3 separate regions of the Homo sapiens genome follow, and all the other regions are linked to region 2. The links are contacts of gene promoters, found by promoter capture Hi-C in blood cells and fetal thymus (Javierre and others, 2016). All regions are on one chromosome and are shown on one strand. Each heading gives the region's core, a stretch centred on a gene start or on the middle of the fragment in contact. The rest is flanking DNA. Distances are from core to core; before and after follow the strand shown. Region 1 holds the start of ZNF154 (zinc finger protein 154). Region 2 holds the start of ZNF324 (zinc finger protein 324). Region 3 holds the start of ZNF417 (zinc finger protein 417).

Region 1 (4,792 bases), core at 469-2,968, 760 kb after region 2:
TCTCGGCCAGGCTCGGTGGCTCATGCCTGTAATCCCAGCACTTTGGGAAGCCGAGATGCGTGGATCACCTGAGGTCAGTGGTTCGAGACCAGCCTGGCCAACATGGTGAAACCCCGTCTCTTCTAAAAATACAAAAATTAGCTGGGTGTCATGGCGTGCGCCTGTAGTCCCAGCTACTTGGGAGGCTGAGGCAAGATAATCGCTTGAACCCAGGAGGTGGAGAGGTTGCAGTGAAACAAGACTGCGTCATTGCACTCCAGCCTGGGCAATAAGAGTGAAACTCCATCTCAAAAAAAAAGAAAAAAAAAAAAGAAGAGATTTCTCACCTATATACCCTGAGTGTCTCTGCAGCCAGCAAAGCAGATGAAGGCCTGCTGGGTTGGAGCCCTAGGCCCTCCAATGCTGAAATGCCCTGTGAAGTCTCCATCCATCCAGGCACTCTAGTAACCTGCTTCTTCTGCCTGGAATTTATTCTAAAAATACCCACATGGCTCATTTCTCACTTCCTTCAAGTGCATTTCACCGGCTTTCTGATTAAGAAGTCCCACCTCTCCCCTTTGTCTCTTATCAAAGTAGCATTTCTTTCATTGTTTTTTGAGATTGATGTTAGACTTCTAGAAGGAATATATCTCAGATATCAAGTAAGAATTATGAAATGGATAAAAGCGTTGCTCAGTGAATTGGACACAGTTATTGACTGGACACAGTAATTGGACACAATAATTGACTATGCAGGCAAAAGATGTTTTCTGTTGGAATCAGACAGAATTCTACCTTTGTACTACTGTTTCAAGGTGATCTAACATTTCTCTTCTATCTTCTAGAAGCACTATCATGCCACTATCTGAAGTAGTTTTTCACCTGTCCCTGACCAAAAGTGCACAGACTGACTTCAATGCTTCGGAGTGCATACATTTGAAATGTAATATGATAGAGGCTGGGTACGGTGGCTTACGCCTGTAATCCCAGCACTTTGAGAGGCCGAGGCGGGCAGATCACCTGGGGCCAGGAATTTGGGACCACCATAGTGAAACCCTGTCTCTACTGAAAATACAAAAAATTAGCCTGGCGTGGTGGCGCGCGCCTATAGTCCCAGCTACTTGGAAGGTTGAGGCACGAGAATCGATTAACCCGGGAGGCGGAGGTTGCAGTGATCCCAGATGGCGCCGCTGCACTCCAGCCTGGGGGACAGAGGGAAACTTTGTCTTAAAAAAAAAAAAAAAGGAATAAACTTATATGGTAATGTTTATTAGCTTCCCTACTAGTGGATATATTTCGTGTCTGAATGGCTCTATGGAATGATGTACATATTTGGATTGGCAGCCTTAGGGAGCGTCTGATAATAATTTTAGCCTCTGGGAGCCTGCTGAACTTTATGAAGTTTGAAATAATATTCCCCAAACACTTGGGTGATCAGTTGCAGATGGCACCTCTAATATGCTGTCTGATTACGACCCATTTAAGAAAGGGCGAAGTCCCTCCACTGCCCTAGGACTTGGATAAGCCATTTCTCATCGCCCAGCGCCCTGGAGCTTCGCTTTTACTCCAAGAGGTTGGTGCAAAGGGTCCCCGGCACCCACCTCGGGATCTATGAAAACTACATTACCTAGAATGCTCTGCGTTGAACGCCACGCTACTAAGCCAGTAAGAGCTCAGAAAACCGACTTTCCTTGAGAGTCACAAAAAGAAAGGACGGGACTTTTGGGGGGGCCTCTTCGTGGCGGCCATTTTAGCTTCTCTGAGGTGTGTTCACCGGATCAGAGATAGCAGAGCGCCGAGTTGGGGCCACGAAGGCGTGAGGGGAGTCGTCGTCCCTCCTGCACGAAAGCGTCTAAGCCTTGGCGACGCCGCCCTGGGGGACCCACGTCAGGCCTGGGATAGGGACCGCTGTCCCCGGGTCCCTACCAATGTCGCCCGTCGCTCCCGGCCCAGCTCTACCCGCAGAGTCTGATGGCAGCGGCCACTCTGAGGACGCCAACTCAGGTGAGTGCGGCGTCTTCCCGTCCTCACACACCTTCCCCCACCCACGTTCTAAAGCCATCAGTGAGGGGCGCCTGCTCGAGTCCCCGCTGCCCAGGGTCGGGGACACTGAGGCGTTCGTGGGTGGGGCCCTTTTTTTGACACTGCGTGTGACGAGGTGTGGGAGAGCGTGACAGGCGGAGGAACCGGCGCGTGCAAAGGTTGAGGCGCGACTGAGCCAGGAGAATTCGGAAAGCTGTTTTCTGCAGGGAACGAAGAATATGAGGCGGAGTTACTCCTAGGGTTGTACTGTCATTGTGAGGATGCTAGAAGCCACGGAGAGTTCTGAACAAAGGAGGGACGCCATTTATGTTAGTTTTTTTTTCTTTGAGACGGAGTTTCGCTCTTATCGCCCAGGCTGGAGTGCAATGACGCGATCTCGGGTCACTGCAACCTCCGACTCCCGGGTTCAAGCGATTCTCCTGCCTCAGCCTCCCCAGCAGCTGGGATTACAAGCCTGCAGCTGGGATTACAACGTCCGGCTAATTTTTTGTATTTTTAGTAGAGACGGGATTTCACCATTTTGGCCAGACTGGTCTGGAACTCCTGACAAGTGATCCTCCTGCCTCGGCCTCCCAAAGTGCTGGGATTACAGGCGTGAGCCACCGTGCCCGCCCTATGTTAGGGTTTAAAAACTTTTCCAAAGACTGTTCACAGGAAGAGCAGCGATGGGGCGATGAGGACATTGAGATAGTGGGAGGCTACATCTTTTTTTCATTGCCCTACAGTTGGCAAGAGGTGACAGCACTGAGACCAGAAAGTAAAACAGCCAGCCTGAGTTCAGGGCCAGGCAGGGCTACAGGGAGGCTTGAGCTCATCTAGCCTCACCAGGGATGCATTCCTCTTTCCCTGGTTCTCCCAGTTGTAGAAGGGCGTATGGAACTCACATAGGGAAGTGGAGAGTGTTCGGTCCCTCAGTAGCCTCTACCCCCATGTTCTTGGGATTGTGGTTTCCTAGTATTCTTAAGTGCTGTTACCCCAATCCTGGGTCTGGTGCCCTGGAGAAATTCCAAGCCCAGGGCTCTTAAGTCCATGCCAGAGGTTACAGGGGTTATACTGAGGTGTTCCCATTTTTGTCAGCCAGTGGAAACTTGTGAAAGGTTATCTCTGGCACTGGTATCAGGAGGCGCAAGTGCTTAGTAAAACTAAGCTGAGATTTTTGAGGAAACCATAGATCTGTTTCCTTTTAGCTGGGAACAAAGAGCAGGGGGAAGGAGTCAGGACTGCAGTGGCTGCCTGAGAAGTTGGGTACCTATTCTGGAGGTAATGAGAGATTTGGGTTACAAGAGGGAGGTGATCTTACCAAAGTCCTAACAGGGTCCATCCCGTTAGCGTGGAGAGCAGACTGTGGGGTTGAGGGAAGAGGAAAGAAGATCAGAGTGGAAGCTACAGCCAGTCCAGGGTAATGGACCAGAGTCATTGATTAGGAGATGTGTTGCATTCTGGATGCAAATTTTTAAAGGGAGCAACTAAATTTTCTGATGTAGACAGCGAGGGAGTGAAACAGGATTCAGCGATGACCCCATGGTTCTTCAACTGAGATGGAGAAGTTGGTATTAACAGTAATATTCACTGGAGACAACAGGAGCTTTATTTGGTCATGTAAGAGTTTGAGATGTTTCAGAGACATTAAGTAGGCATTAAGTAGGTGGCTGAACACCCAGGTCTGGAAATCTGGGGAGTGCTTCAGAATGGAGACATCCAAAATGTGGTGGTCATTGTGTGGACTAAGGTGAGTGAGCTGTGGATTACATTTAGAAGGGTTGTTCTATTTTTTTTTTTTTTTTTTGAGATGGAGTGTCTCTCTTGTTGCCCAGGCCAGAGTGCAATGGCGCGAGCTTGGCTCACCACAACCTCCGCCTCCCGGCTTCAAGCAATTCTCCTGCCTCAGCCTCCCGAGTAGCTGGGATTACAGGCATGCGCCACCACGCCCGGCTAATTTTGTATTTATTTAGTAGAGACAGGGTTTCTCCATGTTGGTCAGGCTAGTCTTGAACTCCCAACCTCAGGTGATCCACCCGCCTCAGCCACCCAGAGTTCTGGGATTACAGGCGTAAGCCACCGCATCCGGCCTACAAGGGTTAATCTTTAGGCATGGTGGTACAGGTTATTTGGCCAGGAAGGGCAGAATGGGGGCTAAGGACCAAGCCTTTTGGTTGGATAAGTGGGTGATATTCTTGGGCTTTCTAAACAGAGGTAAGGGAGGTTAGTGGCTATGGAGGTAGGGTGTTTGGAGAGGATAGTTGGGCAGGTGGCATACACTTTCAAGGGAAGAGTGGATATAAGGTGGATGCAGAGGCATAGGTGTATTTGAGGCAAATGGCTGTCCTTTTTTTCCTTTGTGCTTATTCAGCACTCTGTGGAATCACCAGGATTTTTTGATGACTTTGATGGGGCCTAGGGTGTTTATTCAACCTGGAGGATAAGGCCAGGTGCCAATGTGGTCATCTGTGACAGTCACTTGGCCTGGGGTAGGTGATCAGTGGAGCTAGTCTTTGAGTGTTAAGTGGACAGAGGAAGGTTGTTACTGCTGAGGGGCTAGCAAGTGCAGCACGGAAGTGGAATAGGGCCATGGGTATCTGAGATGCACATGTGGTTCTGTGTGGCCTAAATCTGAGGCAAAGAATGGAGCCAGCCAGGGAGCCCTCATAGGATTTGGGGCTGCTACCACTAGTGGATGCCCTGGGAGATCTAGGGTAGTATTAGATCCGTTTGAATCTGTCGAGCATACTCTGGACGCTGTGTGCTAAGTTATGGTGTAAAGTCTAAAATT
Region 2 (5,101 bases), core at 949-3,448:
AGCATCACGCGGCGGTACAGGGCCCTCTGGGCTGTGTCCAGGAGCCCCCACTCCTCCTGGGAGAAGTACACAGCCACATCCTCAAAGGCCATCTGGTCCTAAAAGAGCAGGGAGGAAGAGACAGCCATGGTCTAAGGCTGGGTTATCCAATCTTTTGGCTTCCCTGGGCCACATTGGAAGAAGAATTGTCTTGGGCAACACATAAAATACATTAACACTAATAACAGCTGATGAGCTAAAAAAAATAAAAATTGCATAAACATCTCATGTTTTAAGAAAGTTCACGAACTTGTTTTGGGCTGCATTCAAAGCCATCCTGGGCAGTGGGTTGGACAAGCTTAGTTTAAGGTATGGCTGTGAGCCAGGACCAAGCTCCCCATCCCAACAGCCACCTTCCATGATGTCCCTCAGACACTCACCCTCCTTCCCTGGGTTCTGCCCCCACCATCTTCAGATGGCACTTCCCTCACATGTCTGGGACCCCTCCCCTCTGCCCTCCCTGACCAGACCCCAGATGCCTTCTTGGCCTCCCCACTGGCAACGCCATACACAAGCAAGCTAGAACAAGTCCTGGCTGGGCCCTCAGCTGCCACACCAAGAGCAGCCCCAGGTGTCCACTCGTGACTCAGCATGACCACTCATGACCCTCCCCAGATGCACCCTTCCTGCTCTTGTAGCAAGAAACTGTGAGTCCCAGCAGGGGCTTCCCAGGCATACCCATCACTGGGACCCTCCCCTGCTGAGCCTGCTTGCCTGACATTTCCAGGCTGCTCATCCAGCCTGAGGGACTGGATGATTCTCACCAGTCGCCACAGGGGAGCAGCCTCAACAACCTGTGAACACAGAGGAACTCAATCCCTTCCTCCTTTCACCCGGTGTCCCCTTTCTTCCCCTCTCTGTTGCCACCCTCCCCTCCTCAGTTAGGTGCTAGGCTCTTCCCAATAGCCCCAGGCATCCCAGCTGGTCTTCTTTACCCTCAAGCCATAACTGCCCACACCTGGCTGAGTCCCTGCCCATTCCTCAGTCCAATTCATAGGCCCTGTCCACAGCCCAGGACGCCAACAACGTCAGGTCCAGTGACATGACCAACCTGGGACATCCCAGACTCTTGATCTTTCCCCTGAAGGAAACCTGCTTTCCTTTCAATTCTCCTTTCTATCTACAGCAGCTCTCTTCTTCCAGGCGCTCAGGCTGAACAACATGGGGTACTTAGTTCTTCAAACAGCCCACACCTGATGCATCCGCAGATCCACCAGAATTCACCTGGTCGCCCACCTCCACTGCTGCCCAGACTGTGGCAGTCGGTTCTTCCCTTCATGCCGACACCCCTGCATGTCTGTTCTCCACGCAACAAACGGTGGAACCGTTTTAAAGTCCTCAGAGGATGTCCTGATTCTGTTCAAAACTTCTATGTCTCCCGACGCCCTCGAGATAAAGCCCACTCCCTCGCCTGATACTGCAGCCGCACACATCCCCTCTACTCCAGCTCCACATCGAGAGAGCTCAGTCCCAGAAGCACCTGGGCTTCGGCTCCCCTCCCAGGTTTTGCACACGCAGGACTCTCCCCTCGGAGCCTCCTTCGGGACCTCAGCCCCCTGGCTGCCCGAACTCGGGAGCTCACCAGTGCCCTGGACGCAGGAGTTTGCACTGACCCCCGCAACCCCCCCAGGGCAGGGAGAGGAAAGACGACTAGGCGAGGTCTAGGAAGCGGCCTCCCTCCGTGAGGGCGCGGTCTGTGTGAGCAGGGACTCCCCTGCTTCCCCGACGCGGGCTTGTCAGCGCCACCGCCGCCAGCGGAACCCGCAGCTGGGAGGGAAGAAAGGCGTGGACCACCCAGCCTTTCCCCGCCAGCAGCGTCCCGGGGCCGCCCCGCGCCTCAGTCTCCCCGGCCATCATGGACGTGGAACGCCCAGCGCGCAGCCTCCTGGGCTGCCGCACGGTGGGAGAGCGCATGGCTCCCGCCGCGGCCCGACAGTCCCCTGGACGCCCACGACGCACTCTGAGAAACAGAGGCTTGGGGGCGCGGCCGGCGGCCGGCGCCCTTGATCACGACGCGTGCGCAGGGCGGGCCCGACGCGGGCCCTCAGCCAGTACCTTCCTCGCCGCCAGCCTCGAGCACCAGGAACCCCCTGGAAACCGGACCCGACCCGCGGTCCCCAGCCCAGACCACCGGTGTGGCCTGACGCGGGCGGCGAAGTGACAGTCCCACCGCCGGAAGTCCAGCCCTTCGGTTCTCATTGGCCCAGTGCGCGCCGCGGACGCTTGCGTACAGCCTTCCGGGTCACGTGGTTCCCGCCTGTTTCCCTGCGTGGAGGCGGGGCCACTACCGGTCTCCTTGGCAACGTCCAAGCCCCTGCCGCGCGGGGCGCTGGGAAATGGAGTCGCGCGGCGGCCTCGGGTTTTCAAGGGCTTGGTGGCGCTGGTGGATTCGCCCGGTGTGTAGTCCTGCCTTCGGCATTCCAGGTGTCCTCCCAAGCAGTCCCGGAGACTAAACCCTGCAGGTGCGAAAGCAGAAACTGCCGAGGTTCCAAGAGGCAACACCAGCAGTGAGCACGGAGGAGAAAATGCACCGGGTAGCGCAGGTGGAGGTGGAGGAGCCGATGCCTGGAGCTCCGGGTTCCCTTCCCAGCTCTGCCTCTCACTGACTGTGCGTCCTGGGCGCGGGTTTGACCTCTCTGTGTCAATGTCCCGTAAAGGTTTAAGGTCCGTTTTCAACCTTTACACCAAGAATTCTCAGCCCGTAAGCCTACATTTGTCTTAAGTATGAGACTGTTCCTCGACACTTGCCCAAAGCATCTGTTTTCCTTGTAATTTGGATGGGCAGAAGTTAATTCCCCAGATTTGCTTGTCCTTAGACCATCTAGATCTTGTCTTGCCCCACACATCACAATATTCATTCTTTTTTCCTTTTTTCTTGGGACTCATTTAAGTTTTTTTTTTTTTTTTTTAACAGGGTCTTTGTTCTGTTGCCCGTGCTGGAGTGCAGTGGCACAATCTCGGCTCACTGCAACCTCTGCCTTCAGGTTCAAGTGATCCCCCCGCCTCAGCCTCCGTAGTAGCTGGGACCACAGGTGTGCGCCACCATGCCTGGCTAATTTTTGTATTTTTTAGTAGAGATGGAGTTTCACCATGTTGGCCAGGCTGGTCTTGAACTCCTGACCTCAGGTGATCCGCCCACCTCGTTCTCCCAAAGTGCTGGGATTACAGGCCAATTTAAGTGTCTTTGACACATAAAAACGAAAGGCAGAGCAGTCTCAATGTAGACTGTCTTGTTTGGCAGATAATAAAAGGTTCTTTGTCTTGTTTTTGGAACCTGTAGACAGTTCTCAGCTGTCCAGTTCCTTAACTCTTTTTGCCTCCCTCCCTCTATACCTACCTCCATCTATAACTATCTCTCTGTCAACTGTCAGCTATAACTGTCCACCTAATTGATTCTACTTGTAAATCCTTGTAGAGCAAGGGAGCTCATCATGTTTGGAATGTTTTAATATAAATTTTGCTACTTTGAAAGAATTTAAGAACATTTCAGGACTGGGCGCAGTGGCTCACACCTGGAATCTGAGCACTTTGGGTGGCCAAGGTGAGCGATCACTGGAGCCTAGGAGTTTGAGACCAGCCTGAGCAACAAAATGTGACCCCATCTTTATAAAAAAATATAAAAATTAGCTGAGCATGGTCTTGCATGCCTGTAATACCAGCTACATGGGAGGCTGAGGTGGGAGGATTGAGTTCAGGAGTTGGAGTGTGCAGTGAGCTATGATGGAGCCCCTGCACTCCAGCCTGGGTAAGAGAGAGACCCTGTCTCAGGAAAAAACAAACAAAAACCCTGAGGGGGAAAAAAAAAACCCCAACACTTAGAAGTATTAAAGTTCAGGGCCGGGCGCGGTGGCTCACGCCTGTAATCCCAGCACTTTGGGAGGCCGAGGCGGGTGGATCATGAGGTCAGGAGATCGAGACCATCCTGGCTAACAAGGTGAAACCCCATCTCTACTAAAAATACAAAAAATTAGCCGGGCGCGGTGGCGGGCGCCTGTAGTCCCAGCTACTGGGGAGGCTGAGGCGGGAGAATGGCGTGAACCCGGGAAGCGGAGCTTGCAGTGAGCCGAGATTGCGCCACTGCAGTCCGCAGTCCGGCCTGGGCGACAGAGCGAGACTCCGTTTCAAAAAAAAAAAAAAAAAAAAAAGGAAGTATTAAAGTTCAAAAACCCTGAAGAAAAAAAACCCCAACACTTAGAACTATTCAAGCTGTGGCCGGGCGCTGTGGCTCACGCCGGTAATCCCAGCACTTTGGGAGGCCGAGGTGGGCGGATCTTGAGGTCAGGAGATCGAGACCATCCTGGCTAACACGGTGAAACCCAGTCTCTGCTAAAAAATACAAAAATAAAAGTAGCTGGGTGTGGTGGCGGGCGCCTGTAGTCCCAGCTACTCAGGAGGCTAAGGCAGGAGAATGGCATGAACCTGGGAGGTGGAGCTTGCAGTGAGCCGAGATCACACCACTGCATTCCAGCCTGGGTGACAGAGCAAGACTCTGTCTCAAAAAAAAAAAAAAGTAGTATTAAAGTTGTGATTTGATCAAATGCTTAGAGGCATTATTACCATTTTAAGCAATGTATGAATATTTGGAGGCATTTTAACTCTTCAAACGTTTCATTTTTTAATTTTTAATTTAATTATTTGAGACAGCATCTCACTCTGTCACCCAGGCTGGAGCACAGTGAAACAATCTTGGCTCACTGCAATCTCTACCTCCTGGGTTCAAGAGATTCTCGTGCCTCAGCCTCCCGAATAGTTGGAATTACAGGTGCATGCCATCACACCCACCTAATTTTTGTATTTTTAGTAGAGACAAGGTTTTGCCATGTTGGGCTGGTCTCGAACTCCTGACCTCAAGTGATCCGCCTGCCTTGGCCTCCAAAAGTGCTGGGATTATAAGTGTGAGCCACTGCACCTGGCCTGAGTGATATTTTCTTTTTTAGTGTGTGTGTGTTTTTTTTTTTTTGAGATGGAGTCTTGCTCTGTGGCCCAGACTGGAGTGTAATGGCGTGATCTCTGCTCACTGCAATCTCTGCCTCCCAGGTTCAAGTGATTCTCCTGCCTCAGC
Region 3 (5,094 bases), core at 2,595-5,094, 550 kb after region 2:
TCTTGGACATTGGTGCTAACATTTCTCTGAGGTCCTAAGCTTTTTCACCATCTACTGATGTTTCCATAGACCCACTTCTGTCAAAACTGTTTAATAATTACCTAGTCAATGTTTTCTTGTTTTTTGCTTTTTATATTTTTGGGGGAGCGGGAGAGAGACGGAGTCTCGCTCTGTCGCCCAGGCTGTAGTGCAATTGCACGATCTAGGCTCACTACAACCTCTGCCTCCCGGGTTCAAGCAGTTCTTCTGTCTCAGCCTCCCAAGTAGCTGGGACTACAGGCACTTGCTACCACGCCTGGCTAATTTTTTTTTTGAGATGCCTAGGCTGGAGTGCAGTGGCGTGATCTCCGCTCACTCCAAGCTCCGTCTCCTGGATTCACGCGTTTCTCTTGCCTCAGCCTCCCCTGTAGCTGGGACTACAGGCACCTGCCACCAGGCCTGGCTAATTTTTTGTATTTTTAGTAGAGACGGGGTTTCACCGTCTTAGCCAGGATGGTCTCGATCTCCTGACCTTGTGATCTGCCCACCTCGGCCTCCCAAAGTGCTGGGATTACAGGCGTGAGCCACCACGCCCAGCCTACCTAGTCAGTATTAATAGGCTTTTGTATCTTGCAATTTACAACTGTTTCTCTTATGTAATATTAATTTTTCATGCAGAACACTCCCTCCTCTCAAATCAATGATAATCACTTCCCATCAATGACATGAACTCATGGCTTTTACAAATGCCCAGTATGAACAGATGGAGAGCACCAACTTTAAGTACTGTTTGAAATGCTTGTTCTTTAGTGCCGTAAAGAAATAGCACTTGACTTGGCCGGGCGCGGTGGCTCATGCCTATAATCCCAGCACTTTGGGAGGCCGAGGTGGGAGGATCACCTGAGGTCGGGAGTTCAAGACCAGCCTGACCAAGATGGAGAGACCCCATCTCTACTAAAAATACAAAATTAGCTGGGCATGGTGGCGCATGCCTATAATCCTAACTACTCAGGAGGCTGAGGCAGGAGAATCACTTGAACCTGGGAGACGGAGGTTGTGGTGAGCCAAGATCGCGCCATTGCTCTCCAGCCTGGGCAACAAGAGCGAAACTCCGTCTCAAAAAAAAAAAAAGAAAGAAAGAAATAGCATTGAACATAAATTTAATTTCCTCAGCAAGGCCATTTTTACTTTCTGCAGAAACGGTATACTCGCCAGCAGTTTTGCTGTGAGATTACACTGAACAAAGGAGACAGGGTCATTTATAACCTGCCTGACGCATCCACCTTACTGCTGTGTCCGGTTTCCACTGGCTAAATACAAATTCACATTCTGTATTTGTCCTGATTGACTAGCAACTTAGAACATTTTTAAAAGAGGCAAAGGCAAGAGGAAAACGAAGGAGGAATTAACTTATGGAATGCTAAGAAAGGCAAAAACACCTTCAAATAAGAGGAACAGGCTATGACAATGCTTGCTTGGACCAGTGTAAACATGCCAGGGCAAATATTTAGGCTAAATTGTGGGAGCTAAGAACATAAAGTACATGGATTTTTTTAATTACGGCTAGAAGATATTTAAGAATGTTAGCACAGGTCTTTGAATAAATTTTGCTTCTAAGAGAAGTTACTATTTATTCCTAATTAGATGGGAGGAAAGTCTTTGAAGAGGAACCTGTACTTTACTTTTTACAGACTGTAGCCATCACTACTACCAAGATACCATTTATTTTATTGTTTTTTGTTTCTTTGTTTGAGAGAGTCTCGCTCTGTCGCCAGGCTGCAGTGCAATGGCGCGATCTCAGCTCACAGCAACCTCTGCCTCCCGGGTTCAAGTGATTCTCCTGCCTTAGCCTCCCGAGTAGCTGGGACTACAGGCGTGTGCCACCACACCCGGCTAATTTTTTTTTTGTATTTTTAGTAGAGACGGGGTTTCACCATGTTAGCCAGGATGGTCTCGATCTCCTGAACTGGTGATCCGCCTGCCTCGGCCTCCCAAAGTGCGAGGATTACAGGCGTGAGCCACCGTGCCCAGCCTTATTGTTCTTTATAAGACTGATGTCAAATTACTAAAAGGAGTTGAATGTAAGTTAGAATATCAAGTAAAGGATACTAAGTGGGAAAAAGTGTTGTTCAATTAATTGAACGCTATAATGATTTGTGAACCCCCCAAATTTGAGACAGGTCTCAGTTAATTTAAATAGTTTATTTTGCTGGCCAGGTGTGGTGACTCATGCCTGTAACCCCAACACATTGGAGGGTGAGGCAGGCAGATCACGAGGGAGATCGAGACCATCCTAAACAAGGTGAAACCCCCGTCTGTACTGAAACTACAAAAATTGGCGTGATGCCACGTGCCTGTACTCCCAGCTACTCGGGAGGCTAAGGCAGGAGAATCACTTGAACCCGAGAGGCAGAGGTTGCAGTGAGCCGAGATCGCGCCACTGCACTCGAGCCTGACCAAAGAGCGAGACTCCGTCTCATAAAAGAAAAAGTTTATTTTGCCAAGGTTGAGGACACATGCCCGTGACACAGCCTCAGGAAGTCCTGACGACATGTGCCCATGGTGGTTGGGGTACAGGTTGGTTTTATACATTTTAGGGGGACATGAGACATCAGTGAATATATGTAAGAAGTACATTGGTTCCGACCAGAAAGGCGGGAACAACTCGAAGCAGGGAGGGGACTTCCAGGTCACAGGTAGACAGGTAGAGAGACAAATAGTTGGATTCTTTTTAATTTCTGATAAGTCCTTCCAAAGGAGGCAATCAGAATAGGCATCTATCTCAGTGAGGAGAGGGAAGACTTTGAATAGAATGGGAGGCAAGTTTGCCCTGAGCAGTTCCCAGATTGACTTTTCCCTTTAGCTTAGTAATTTTGAGGCCACAAGATTTTCCTTTCACAGATTCTATCAGCAGGAGAGTTGTTTTCTGTAGGAATCACAGAGATTCAGCTTTGCACTCCTGCTATAGGGGAGCACATCCCTAACTTCCTTCATTTGCCTTAGGCACTCTAAGGCTTCTGAGGGCCTTCAGACACATTATAACACAACAACGCTTATCAGCCTCTGCTTCCAGTGCAGGTATTTTGCGACTGAACGACTGTTTCAAACGGTGTGGTAATTTGGATTTTTAGCCTTTAGGAGAATCCTAAATAATAGTTTTAGCTTGAGCTCCCTATTATTTACCTTGCGCTCCCCGAAATCTGAAACAGTATTTTTCCAGATTCTTGAGTGATTAGTTACAGACACTAGTCTCCAGGAATCTCAATACGGCTTCTAAGGCTAGGTGAGACCCCTCCTCTGCCCTAGAAAGGCGCCTTTTTTTTTTTTTTTTTTTTTTTTTTTTTTTTTTTTTTTGAGACAGAGTCTTGCTCTGTCGCGCAGGCTGGAGGGCAGTGGCGCGATCCCAGCTCACTGCAAGCTCTGCCTCCCAGGTTCACGCCATTCTCCTCCAGCCTCAGCCTCCAGAGTAGCTGTGACTGTAGGCGCCCGCCACCACACCCAGCTAACTTTTTTTTTTTTTGAATTTTTAGTAGACACGGGGTTTCACCGTGTTAGCCAGGATGGTCTCCATCTCCTGACCTCGTGATCCGCCCACCTCCGCCTTCCAAAGTGCTGAGATTACAGGCTTGAGCCACTGCGCCCGGCCAGAAGGGTGCGCTTTTTAAGGAGAACCCCTGACCTGATGGCGGGCTTTTCCTGCAGATGGACTCTGGGTATCGCTCTTTTTAGCGCCATGGAAAGTGGGGAACTACATTACCCAGAAAGCTCTGCGTTAAACGACAGCCGGTCAGAGCCAATGAGCACTCGGAAAGAAGGCATTTCCACGTGTGCACGTAACGTAAGGCTGAGACTTCCGGGGTCTCTAGTAGCGGCTGTGTATCGGTGACGCGGGTGTTTCCCCAGTTTGTGGCCCCTGAGTGCTGGGGGGGGACCGCGGTGACTGAACCTAGAAGGTGGAGAGGAATCGTCCTCGGTGCCCAGAGGCGGCTCTGCAGCCCCGTGACGGCGACCACTGCTCCCGGGCCGTGCTTCCCCAAGTAGTCCGATGGCAGCGGCTGCGCCGAGGCGCCCGACTCAGGTAATTGTGGCGCCTTCTGTGCCCTCAGGTCACCCCATCGTCACCCAGGTCCTAAACCAGCGAGGGAGCGGCTCCTGCTCACGGGTCTGTAGCCGGTACCCGGCGTAGGAACACTGAGGCGCTCGCAGGAGGGGTCCCTGTGTAACTGTCCAGTGGGGGTCCCTGTGTAACTGTCCAGTGGGTTCACCTTGCCAGCTGCCTAGACAGAGCCGATTTATGAAGACTGGAGAATTGCGATGGAGAAATAGTAATTGACGCAGAGCCGTCAGGCTGTTCTGGAGACAGGAGTTTTATTATTACTCAAATCAGTCTCCATTAGCATTCCGGGATCAGAGTTTTCAACATTAATTTGGCGGTAAGGGTTGGGACCTGAGATGGATTCATAGAGGGTTAAAGTGAGTTTTTCATGCTGTTTTCTGTTCTGGGTGGGATGGCAGAACTGATTGACCCAGATTACCGGTCTGTGTGTTGTCAGCTGATCCATCCAGTGCAGGATCTGCAAAATACCTCAAGCACTGATCTTAGGTTTTACAATAGTGATTTATCTTCAGGAGCAACTTGGGGAGGTTCAGACTCTTGGAGTCAGAAGCTGCATGACCCCTAAACGGTAATTTCTAACCTTGTAGCTAATTCGTTAGTCCTGCAAAGGCAGGCTGTTCTCCAGGCAAGAAGGGGGTCTTTTCAGGAAAGGGCTATTATCAATTTTGTTTCAGAGTGAAACCATGAACTGAATTCCTTCCCTAAGTTAATTCAGCCTATACCCAGGAATGAACAAGGACAGCTGAAAGGTTGGAAGCAAGACGGAGTCAGTAAGGTCTGATTTCTTTCACTGTCATAATTTCCTCAGTTATAATTTTGCAAAGACGGTTTCACCTGTTTCTGACACCCGTGGGATGCGGTGGGGAGAGCAACAAGCACAGGGAGGGGCGCAGGCAATGGCCTGGAGATGGACGGAGCCGGGAGGATGGAACCTGTCTGGAACAAAGTGTGAGGTGGAGCTCTCCCTGGAAGAGTAAGCAGGCCGAGGGCTGTGCATT

The links. The method cuts DNA at HindIII sites, captures the fragments that hold promoters and counts their contacts. A CHiCAGO score of 5 or more calls a contact.
Region 1: the fragment with the promoter of ZNF154 here is called in contact with the fragment with the promoter of ZNF324 in region 2 in 4 of 17 cell types (neutrophils, fetal thymus, total CD4 T cells and 1 more); the score reaches 9.9 in neutrophils.
Region 3: the fragment with the promoter of ZNF417 here is called in contact with the fragment with the promoter of ZNF324 in region 2 in 3 of 17 cell types (naive CD8 T cells, neutrophils and fetal thymus); the score reaches 6.9 in naive CD8 T cells.

Annotation. Positions count from the first base shown.
Region 1 is chr19:57,706,130-57,710,921 of GRCh38, reverse strand. ZNF154 (zinc finger protein 154) reads left to right here and starts at 1,718. Exons shown (of 3, transcript NM_001085384.3): 1 at 1,718-1,983. The coding sequence starts at 1,951. RefSeq lists enhancers at 1,538-1,597, 1,618-1,747, 1,491-2,130. The HindIII fragment of the contact is 9,236 bases long and covers 1-4,792 here.
Region 2 is chr19:58,464,177-58,469,277 of GRCh38, reverse strand. It overlaps ZNF324 (zinc finger protein 324), which reads right to left and starts at 2,198. Exons shown (of 4, transcript NM_014347.3): 1 at 2,095-2,198; 2 at 1-98. The coding sequence starts at 92. RefSeq lists enhancers at 698-817, 1,236-1,850, 1,851-2,467 and silencers at 1,949-2,078, 2,159-2,208. The HindIII fragment of the contact is 6,014 bases long and covers 340-5,101 here.
Region 3 is chr19:57,915,342-57,920,435 of GRCh38, reverse strand. ZNF417 (zinc finger protein 417) reads left to right here and starts at 3,844. Exons shown (of 3, transcript NM_152475.3): 1 at 3,844-4,057. The coding sequence starts at 4,025. RefSeq lists enhancers at 3,468-3,527, 2,924-3,779, 3,798-4,087. The HindIII fragment of the contact is 13,199 bases long and covers 42-5,094 here.